2 separate regions of the Homo sapiens genome follow, and region 1 is linked to region 2. Evidence: promoter capture Hi-C in 16 types of primary human blood cells and fetal thymus (Javierre and others, 2016). All regions are on one chromosome and are shown on one strand. The core of a region is centred on a gene start or on the middle of the fragment in contact, and the rest is flanking DNA. Distances in the headings are between cores, read along the strand shown. Region 1 overlaps FAT2 (FAT atypical cadherin 2). Region 2 holds the start of ATOX1-AS1 (ATOX1 antisense RNA 1).

Region 1 (5,290 bases), core at 2,477-4,976, 200 kb before region 2:
TTATAGTAATTGCTTATAATTAACACTTATCAATGATAGTAATAGCCCCTGGCATTTGTATAATATTTCAATTTACAACATGTATTAACATACATTTTCTTTTTTGAGATGGAGTCTTGCTGTGTCGCCCAGGCTGGAGTGCAATGGTGCAATCTCAGCTCACTGCAACCTCTGCCTCCCAGGTTCAAGCGATTCTCCTCCCTCAGCCTCCCGAGTAGCTGGGATTACAGGTGCATGTCACCATGCCAGGCTAATTTTTGTATTTTTAGTAGAGACGGAGTTTCACCATGTTGGCTAGGCGGGTCTCGAACTCCCAACCTCAGGTGATCCGCCCGCCTCGGCCTCCCAAAGTGCTAGGATTACAGGCGTGAGCCACCGCATCTGGCCAACATACATTTTCTCTTTTAATCTTTGCAATGACTTTCTGGCACAGGTAAGATTATTCCCGTTTTTGAGATGAAGAAACCCATAAAATAGATAAACCCATAAAATAGATACTAAATCACTGTGGAGCCTTATCAGAAAATAAAAATTACTTCTAAAACTATGCCATACACTTCATAAAGTGTTCTAAGATACATGCATGAAGTTATTACATTTTTAAATGTTGCATGGACTTCATAAATATCTTCTACATGTTTGGTCACTGGTGGGTTTATATAATATATATGCAAATTCTCCCACAGCATGAGTGGTCCTTACTCATATTGTAGTAATTATGTTATTACTACCTTTGGAAGTGCATTAATTTAGGTAGTCCCAGGGAATGCTCTAGAATTATTGTTTGCCAAGGCTTAATGAGCTTGGTACTTGATTAATTTGCGAATTCATGCCTCTAGTGCTTTCCTTTATTTCTAAAGCATCTTGACCCATCCTCTGAGCTCATGGCCAGGCCTCTCACCTTTCAGGAGGGAGTAGTGGACCTCAGCATTGACTCCCCGGTCAGCATCCATGGCTCGGACCTGCAGCAGCTCTGTGCCGGGGGCTATGGTGTCAGGAACACTTGCCTCATAATGGAGCTGAGTGAAGCGGGGTGGGTGGAGGTTTCCATCCTCCACATGAATGGTCACCCACACGAAGTTCCTCTTGATAGGTATTTCCTGGTCTCGGACCTATGGGCCCAAAGGGGGTAATTGGGTAAGCAGCAAATGGAATAGGAGGAGGCAGGGTTAGGGTAAGGTTAATGAACTAGAATGCCAATTTAAAATATGCCCAATTGTAACTAACTCCCCATATTCTTTTAAATGTTGTTCTAATCTATATGCTCTTTTTCTTCATTTATGTAAATGGATCAGTCAATGATTCCTAGGCTCAGCTGTTTTAATGGATAATTCTATTTTAGGAGAAAGACAGAAATAGGCAGAGAAGCAGTGTTTTCCAAATTACATCTCAGAGAATACTCATTCTTCAAGATGTTAACATGTCATGCAGGAAAAAAAAATTATATGGTCACATAAATTTGGGGAGCACTGAATTAAATGCAGTCAAACAGTTTTCTTTGTTGCAGGACTTCTCAGAGCCTTGAATACGTATTATATGCCCAGAGGATGATAAATTAGCACATAAGAACCCTGATCTTTAAGACAGGAGGCCAGGCTCCGATTCTGGTTCCATCATAAATAACTGTATGACAGTGAGGAAGTCTGTCTTTCTCTGTGGGTCTCAGGTGTAAGATGAGACAAATGGGCAGGGTCAGGGATAGAACTAGGGGGAAGCAAGTGAGGCAAGTAGGGTGCAAAATTTAAAGAGGCTCTGACTCTTGGGGTCATAAAAATGCAGGCACATGGCCCAGAGAGTGAGCCCTCCTTACATTTTGTGTCCTGCATGCCTTGCTGGCCTGACCCTAGTCCTTGCTCTCAGTGGGAGAGGCTCTGTGTCCCTTCCAGCTCTGACATTACATGAATCCACATTGTGTCATGAAGTCACTGAGCAGGGAGAGAGCTCTTGGGAAATATCTGGGGTGAGTCCAGAGAAAGCTGAGGTTGACAGGAGTTTCCTTGGCAGCCGTCCCATCTCTACCTTCACTTCCAGGCATCCCTTATGGAAGGTGCCCTTAGCCAGCTGTGAAATGTCACAACTCTGTCTCGTGCATGGTCCTTATGAGGGGAAGGGGGACCTTCAGCATGTCTCCAAGCATGTCCACCCCTACACATCTACATGCAAACGTATTCTCACCAGATTTTTCCATTTACTCACCATGACTGTCAGTGTGTGCTGGGAGGGCCCCGAGCCGAGGTCCAATTTTCCCACCGTTACCAGGACACCACTGCTTGGGTCCAGCTGGAAGAGGCTGGCACTTCCTGGGTCTTGGCTGCCATGTATGGTATAGATGAGGCTTTTGCCCTTGTCTTGATCTATGGCCTGGACTCGCAGGAGCTCTACCCCTGGCACGGTGTCCTGGGGAACTCTGACTTCATAACGAGTTTCCAGAAACTGGGGCCGATGGTGGTTAATGTTGGCAATCATGAAGATGTGGACCTAGGGAGGGAGATGAGGGAGAAGGTGCACTGCAAGCCCCAGGGGAACAGGGACTGGGTCTGTCTGGACCTCCCTGTATCACCCAGGCCTAGCACAGTGCCTGGCACTCAGCAATCACTTGATAAATATTTGTTGAATGAATGACAGTATTTCAAAATCAAAAGACCTTCAGATGCTGCACAGTCTAGTGTTTTTCAAAAACAAAAATTTTCTGGAAGGGCCTTTCCATCAAGTGAAATGTTGTGTGAAATCCAAATGTAAGAAACAGATAAAACACTGGCTGAAGCTAGAATAGAAATTCAGAGCCCCACTTACCCAACCATCATCCCCCTATACCCATAGTAGCCCCATTGTACTCTATCTTTAATTAAAACTGCTCATTTAAACAAGCTTCCAATTATAGACAGATCCAGAGTGGGAGAAAGAATTCTCCCAGGATCACAGAAGTAGAGAGTGTATTAGACAAGAACTTTGATTCTAAATTCAGTGTTCCTTGAGGAACACCACATCCACAGAAAACCTCTGTAGCCTCATCCCAACCAAGAAGGCCTTCCATCTCCTCTCAATACAGGGGTCCCCAGCCGAGGCCTCTAACCTGTGTGGCAATGGTGCGGGACCCATCTGTCACCTCAACAGTCAAGTTATAGTTCGACCTTCTCCTGGTATCAAGAGGCCTGGCAATGACGATGCTGCCTGTGGTCTTCTCAATGTCAAAGTCCATGTCCTTATCCCCACCTAGAGTGGGAGTGGGGAGAAAGCACACACAACCTCAGTGATTTAGGCAGCATAGCATAAGATAGGCTTTGGTTGTCAGGCTCAGAGGACACGGTGGTAAATTCCACAGTACAAGATCTGAGTGACAGGTTGTAGTTTATTCTCCCAGGGAGTCCCAAAACTGTAATTTATTCTGTCAAGTTGTTGTCAAGTTATTTTTATTTGAATTTTATTAATAAATCAAATTGATTAATAAACTATAAGAATCCAAATGTAACAACATATTTTTAAATGTCTAGTATATAGAAATATGTTTAGTGACATGGAAATATGTTCATGATATATTACATTTAAAAATATTATAAAACAATACTTTAATATAACCCTAAGGGTGTGTGTGTGTGTGTGTGTGTGTGTGTGTGTGTGTGTAAAGGAAAAATGACAAAAAGGAAACACATCAACATTATAACAGTGGATTATCTTCTGATTGGTGGAACTTTAGGTGATTTTTATTTTCTTCTCTGCATTCATTTGTGTGTGCTTATTTACTTATTTATAGACAGGCTCTCACTCTGTCACCCAGGCTGGAGTGTATGGTGCAATCATAGTTCACTGTAACCTTGGACTCGGCCTCAAGTGATCCTCCTACTTCAGCCTCTCAAGCAGCTGGGATTACAGGTGCGAGCCACTGTGCCCAGCCCATATGTGTTTTTGAAATGTTTTAGAGGGTACATGCATTAATTTGGTATTAAAGAAAAAAAGTCAAACAAAACAGCCGTAAGCCAGAACTGGAAGTAAGTTCAGGAGGTTCAAAGAGCTTGGGTCAAGGGCATATATCCTATCCTACTCTTAGCCAGGACAGAAAACTGTACCAGGACTCCATGTTCATGTGGGTGCTGAAACTCCTAGAGATTTTTAACCTGGAATCCCTGGATGGGTTTCAAAGGGCCTATACATCCTCTAAATTGTATGCAGATTTACATTTGTGTGTGTTTGTGCACACAACTTTCTGGGAAGAGGACCTAAGCGTTCGTCAGATTCCTGAAGGGTTCTGTGACCCCCAGATGTTGAAACAAAACCTTGATTTAGAGACAGAGAGGAATTTCAGAGAAGGCCATCAGAGCCCGGATCCAAGTGCCTCGTAGAATGAGAATGGGCACTTTCCCCTGATCTCAAGGGTGAAACCTGGAGCCAAAACATTGAGCATGGCCCCAGGGTATAGCTTATGGCAGGCTCACGGTCAACTATGATTTTCACATTGAGGTAGGAAAGGAAACACAAAGCATTTCTGCTCTGGGTCTTCCTGAACCATTTTAGGTCTCCTAGGCCCTTGGGGTAACTGAGGCACTGCCAACTCTGGCTGGGGTTAGAGATCGTGGCTGGAGTGAAAGGAAAGCTTGGCAGACGTGGCATTCTTACTGCCTGTGCTCCCAGAGAACCAGGGAAGAGGCAGTCCCCACTCCGGGCTGAAAGAGGGGCTGCCGAGGAGCCCGACCTTGAGAAGAGTCAGAAGGACTGTAGCAGGAAAACTAGAGCTGGTGTATAAGGATGGGAGGGGTTGGCCCTTGTTGGGCCCTAGGCCTTGCCTCACCTGAGATGTTGAACCAGAAGAGTCCGGGTCTGCCCTCTACGCTGATGACCCCCACCATGTGGTTCACAGGGTCCGTCTCCATGACCGTAAAGCTGTAGTAGGTCTCATCAAAGGCCAGAGGGATGGAGGACGGCCGGGGCCAAGGGATCCACTCAATGTGTAGCCGGACACTGGCTGAGAGTGGTGGCTGCCCACTGTCTGTTGCCTTGATCTGAAAGGAGGCCAACACCAAAACTGAGGTTTGGGGCCAAGAGACAGGAAGACCCAAGCAGCCAGGACAGGAACCAGAGCGTCCTGTGATTCTGACCAAGCAGGCCTCTCATCCAGTCATTCATTCATCTGATGCATACTTGAAGGCTTGCTGTAAACAGGCACCCTGCCAGTTGCTGCAGGCACGGTGGTGAACAAAACGTATAACCTGTGCTCAAGAACCTCATGGTTAGTATAAAAATAATAAATGCCACTGTTAACTGAAGACTTACTGTGTGCTACTTCCTAAATTGAACT
Region 2 (5,882 bases), core at 2,795-5,294:
TGCAGTGAGCCAAGACCGCGCCACTGCACTCCAGCCTGGATGAAGTTCCTGGGATGGGTAGATGTCTTTGAGCTGTCAAACGAAATTAGGCCCATCCCCACTTCATCCAGAGCCTGCTGCTTTGTATTTGAGGAGCTCCTGTACAGTTTCATTTTTAAAGCATCAACAGGCTGGGCACGGTGGCTCACGCCTGTAATCCCAGCACTTTGGGGGACCAAGGTGGGCAGGTCACCTAAGGTCAGGAGTTTGAGACCAGCCTGGCCAAGATAGAGAAACCCCGTCTCTACTAAAAATACAAAATTAGCCGGGCATGGTGGCCTGAGCCTGTAATCCCAGATACTCAGGAGGCTGAGGCAGGAGAATCGCTTGAACCTGGGAGGTGGAGGTTGCGGTGGGCTGAGATCACGCCATTGCACTCTAGCCTGGGCAACAAGAGCGAAATTCTGCCTCAGAAAAAAAAAAAAAATTAGCCAGGCGTGGTGGCGGGCACCTATAATCCCAGCTACTCGGGAGGCTGAGGCAGGAGAATCGCTTGAACCCGGGGCAGAGTGGAGCAGGTTGCAGTGAGCAGAGATCATGCCACTTCACTCCACTCTAGCCTGGGTGAAAGAGCAAACTCCATCTCCAAAAAAAAAAAAAAAGAAAAAGAAAAAAAAAAGCATCAACAGCAAAAGCTGATACAGACATACAAGATATACATTCCCATACCACAGCTGGGGAAACCCAGGCCCGAGAAAGAAGGGCCCACAGTCACATGACAAGTCAGCAGCTAGGTTCTTTCCACTGTTTCAGTTTCTTTCAGATTAAGATCCCAGTTTACAGGGCTAGAGGCCAGCCACTGACTTGCTGCGGGACTACGGGCAAGTCACTTAACCTCCTGGACACTGGCATCGACATCCCCATTCCAAAGATGGAAAGTACAGCTCAGAGGACTGCTAATGAGATCACGTCCATGTGGAAGCCATTTGAAAACTTAATGTCATTATTATTTAGGGTTTTAAAAAAGAAAATTTTAGAAGATTGTGTGATAGTTCATGTGGAAGAAAAAGAAAAGAAAAAATCTTAGAAGGCTGACTGAGCACTGGCATTGCCAAAACTCTGATCACAACTCAGTTATTACCTCACTGAGTCCCAGGACCAGATCCCAGTCCTCTCTGGGCCTCAGTTTCCCCAGCTGTAAAATGACAAGGCTGGATGAGACTGATTGTTCAAAAGAGGTGCTTTAAGAATATCTGCATGTGGCCAGGTGCGGTGGCTCATGCCTGTAACCCTAGCACTTTGGGAGACCAAAGCAGGCGGATTACTTGAGGTCAAGAGTTCAAGACCAGCCTGGCCAACATGGTGAAATCCATATCTATGAAAAGTACAAAAATTCACCGGAAATCGCCTGAACCCAGGAGGCAGAGGCTGCAATGAGCTGAGATCATGCCACTGCACTCCAGCCTGGGCAACAAACAGAGTGAGACTTCATCTCAAAAAAAAAAAAAAAAAAATCTGCATGTGAGTGATTCAAAATTAATTTAAATTTTTTTTTTTGAAGTAAAGAAACAGAAAAAGACAAAATTTTAAAAATTTTTACCTTTTTTTAAATCTTTCCTTTTTTTCTTTCTTTTTTTTTTTTTTTTTTTGGAGACAGGGTCTTGCTCTGTTGCCCCCACTGCAGTGCAGTGGCACGATCTAGGCTCACTGTGGCCTTAACCTCCCAGGCTCAAGCGATCTTCCCACCTCAGCCCCCTAAATTAGCTGTGAGTACAGGCATGTAACACCATGCCTGGCTAATTTTTTTGGTATTTTTTGTAGAGATGGCATTTTACCATGTTGCCCAGGCTGGTCTCGGGAACTCCTGAGCTCAGGCAATCTGCCCGCCTCAGCCTTCCGAAATGCTGGGATCACAGGTGTGAGCCACCGTGCCCAGCCCCATTTAAAAAACCTTAATAGAGGCTGCGTAGGGTGGCTCGCGCCTGTAATCCCAGCACTTTGGGAGGCCGAGGCGGGCAGATCACCTGAGGTCAGGGGTTCGAGACCAGCCTGACCAACATGGAGAAACCCCGTCTGTACTGAAAATACAAAATGAGCCAGGCGTGGTGGTGCATGCCTGTAATCCCAGCTACTTGGAAGGCTGAGGCAAGAGAATTGCTTGAACCTGGGAGGCGGAGGTTGCAACAAGCCGAGATTGCACCATTGCACTCCAGGCTGAGCAAGAAGAGCGAAACTCTGTCTCAAAAAAAAAAAAAAAAAAAAAAATTCAATAGAAAATGACACTCAGATGTGTCATGCAGTACACACTGGAGATGACCAACATATGAACTAGTACTGCCATGGCTCCAGAGCTACTCCTGGCAGTACTAGTTAATTTGGCTAAATCCCAGCTCTGCCATTTACTGACCATGTGATCCCAGATAAGTTATTTAATGTTTCTGAACTTCAGCTGTCTCCTGTTTAACATGGAGCTAGTAAAAAAAAAACTATCTGAAATGGCCGTGGTGAGGATTAAATGATGTGATTCACATAAGCCACTAAGAAAATAACAAGAGTAGTTGGCACGTGCTAAGTACTCAATATATTTTAGTTTTACTGTTATGATCAGCTTAACCCTAAGTCTCTCCTGCAACATCTGCATGCATCTGAACATGGCATAAGTGCACCCAACTCAGGGCCACTCACTCACCTCCAAGCTTATTGAGGACCCGAGAGACAGCTTCAGCACAGCCTCCACAGGTCATGTCCACAGAGAACTCGTGCTTCTGAAACAAACACAGGGGGACCATGACCCGAGCCCTGTAGAGTGACCCCCACACAGTGCCAGCAGACAGGCCCACTCAGGGTCAAGACAGAAGACAGAGAGACTGGGCAGGACCTGGTTGGCATCAGACTCATCAGAAGCCTGTTTCTGAGCCCGTCTCTTCAACTATAGAGTAGCTAAGAGTTTCTACCTCACAAGTTGTATTCAATGGAATCATCCCTATAAATCCTTTAGCAGTGTCTGGCACATAGTAAATAGAATCACCTGGAGATCTAGTTTAAAATGCTTTTTCCCAGTCCTACCTTCAAAACACTGATTCTTGAGCTATGAGCTTTGTCTCAGGGCCACCAGTAACTCTGACAGGGATGGGCCCCCATACTCTGAGCAATGCTGATCTGGTGGGCCCACTTATGAACCACAAAATTATTTTCTGCACTAGAGTCACCTACAGCTTGCAAAAACTACAGGTTCTGGTCAGCAGGTCTGGGCTGGGGAATCTGTTATGTCTACTCATTACCCCAGGTGATTCTGCTTTCATCCAAGGGCCGCATTCTCAGAGGCAGCATCTGGGTCCAGGGAAAGAAAGGATTGCCTGGGTTCCCCAGTGGGTTGGAGGCCAGGCAGGAAGGGATCCCCGGCTCCTAGTCTTCATGTAAGCTCTACATTCTACAGTCTCTAGGATATCTAACAGATCAAGGGTCTGAAGGTAAGCTCCCAGAAGACAGAGGTTTTGTTCAGTTCACTACTGGATTCCTAATACTTGGAACAGTGCCTGGACAGAGTAGGTGCTTAAAACTTATTTTTGAGTCAATGGATAATTGACATGGCTGGTTTGAACTTCTGGATCTTTTGCTTTGCTTTCACACAAGGATTACTTATACCAATACTTTATTTTAAAATCTCTGGAAATGAGACCATCTGAAATCAGATAAATATGGCTTCAGATACCAGCTCTGGCACTACTAGTTGCATGATCATCAATATGTTACTTCTCTGTGCCTTAGTTTCCACATCTGAAAATTGAGGGTAAGAGTCCCTCTCTAGATTTGTGAATGGGATGAACACAGGATTTTAAGTACGGTTAGCCAGCATCCAAGATGGCCTCAATGATCTCTGCCTCTGGTATTTATGCCCTTGAGTAATCCCATTCCACATGTCTCGGGTTGGTCTGTGTGTCTTATAGAATATGGCTTGAAGTGAGGTTATGTGGCTTCTGAAGCTATCACAATGTCATAAAGGACACTGTGACTTCTGTCTTGCTCCATTTCTGGGGTCACTTGCACTAGAGGAAGTCAGCTACTAAATTACAAAGAAATTCCAGCAACCACAAGGAGAGGTCCACAAAGTGAGAGATTGAACCCTCGAGCTAACAAGCATGTGAGTGAGACATGTTGGAAGTGGATTCTCCAGCTCCAGTCAAGCCTTCAGATGAATGCAGCTCCAGCCAACATCTCACTGCAGCTTTATGAGAGCCTCTGAGCTGGAGCCACTAGGCCAAGCTGTTCCCAAATTCCTGACTCTCAGAAACTGTGTGAGTTACTATAAATATATTTGTTGTTTTATACTACAAAGTTTTGGGATAATTACTAAGGAGCAATAGATAACTAACACATTAAGGAAATTAGAGCCTAGTACTAGGTTCCGTTGGGTAAAAGGTTAGCTATTGGATTATTAATTTCTTCCATTTGTCTCTCCTGTTTCCCTTCAAAAATCAATGGCTACATTTTTCATGGAGCACTTCAAAATATTTGAAGTCTATTACCTCAGTTGGAATCCTGGGTGTAGTGATATATCTTGCTAGAAAACCACAGGCAAAATCTCTGCTCCAGAAGGGCTCCAGTTCCCTAATCTATACCAAAAGGGTATTAGCTAACTCAATTTTTTTCAACTTTAGTGTGCATAGGAAGAATCTGGGGACCTTGTGGAAAGTGCAGCTCCCAGACACCTGCCTCAACTGACTCTGTGGATGTGGAGCGGGCCCTGCCACTCCCCATTTTTAACCTACTGGGGAGAGAACGGGAGGCAAAACTACAAACCTGAAAATAAAGTGGCTAAGTGGCTTCTCAAACTCTTTCCAAGTCTCTAAACACCGCTGAGTCTGGATTGTCACTGTGCTCTACAGAGGAAACGAAGACCAAGAATTAAGCAGCTCGATTTTCCAGTGCAGACTGTTTGACCTTTGTGACTAGTAAACCACTCCTTTTATTAAGGCCAAATCTGCAAAATCTGTCTTAAAGAAAATGGTCAGTCTTTCCTTTCTTCTAAACATCTCTGATTTTTTCATCTTGTTTCCTGACTATTCACAGACAGCAACAATAACAGATTCTGGAAAGAAGGATTTGTAGTAAGTATTACAAAATCTTGTCTTTAAAATGTGGTCCTCAGCCCAACAATATGAGCATCACCTGAGAGCCTGTCAGAAATGCAGAATCTCAGGTCCCTTCCCAGAAGTCCGGAATCAGAATCCTCATTTTAACAAGACACCCAAGTCATTCCTCCCCACATTACAGTCTGAGATGATGCTCTCCTCTATTAAAAAGTTTTTTTAGGCTGGGCAATGTGGCTCATGCCTATAATCTCAACACTTTGGGAGGCTGAGGCAGGTAGATCACCTGAGGTCACAAGTTTGAGACCAGTCTGGCCAACATGGCAAAACCTGTTTCTCTACTAAAAATAGAAAAAAAATTAGCCAGGCATGGTGGCAGGTGCCTGTAATCCCAGCTACTTAGGAGGCTGAGGCAGGAAAATCACTTAAACCCAGGAGTTTGAGACTAGCCTGGGCAATACAGTGAGATCATGGCTCCATTTAATTTAAAAGAAAAAAATTGTTTTGGAAAAAAAAATGATGATGCTCTGGAACATGGATTGGCACACTACAAACTACCTGTTTTACAAAGAGTTTTGTTAAAACATAGCCCAAATCGGGCCAGGTGTGGTGGCTCATGCCTGTAATCCCAGCATTTTTGGGAGGCTGAGGCGGGAGGATCACGAGGTCAAGAGATCGAGACCATTCTGGCCAACATGGTGAAACCCCATCTCTACTAAAAATACAAAAATTAGCTGGTAGTGGTGGCATGCGCCTGTAGTCCCAGCTACTCAAGAGGCTGAGGCAGGAGAATCGCTTGACCCAGGAGGCGGA

What was found. Contacts are between HindIII fragments. The CHiCAGO score rates a contact against its expected background, and 5 or more counts as called.
Region 1: a contact is called between a fragment that was not itself captured here and the fragment with the promoter of ATOX1-AS1 in region 2, in 1 of 17 cell types (monocytes). The highest score is 6.1, in monocytes.

Annotation. Positions count from the first base shown.
Region 1 is chr5:151,548,394-151,553,683 of GRCh38, forward strand. FAT2 (FAT atypical cadherin 2) reads right to left here. Exons shown (of 24, transcript NM_001447.3): 6 at 4,784-4,994; 7 at 3,074-3,213; 8 at 2,197-2,478; 9 at 902-1,112. It also overlaps a transcript of SLC36A1 not described here. Among named protein-coding and RNA genes, the nearest start is that of MIR6499, 29 kb to the left of the region's middle. The HindIII fragment of the contact is 1,720 bases long and covers 2,867-4,586 here.
Region 2 is chr5:151,749,036-151,754,917 of GRCh38, forward strand. It overlaps ATOX1-AS1 (ATOX1 antisense RNA 1), which reads left to right and starts at 4,045. Exons shown (of 4, transcript XR_007059008.1): 1 at 4,045-4,274; 2 at 4,638-5,087. It overlaps ATOX1 (antioxidant 1 copper chaperone), which reads right to left. Exons shown (of 4, transcript NM_004045.4): 2 at 2,669-2,744. RefSeq lists an enhancer at 635-884. The HindIII fragment of the contact is 3,507 bases long and covers 2,674-5,882 here.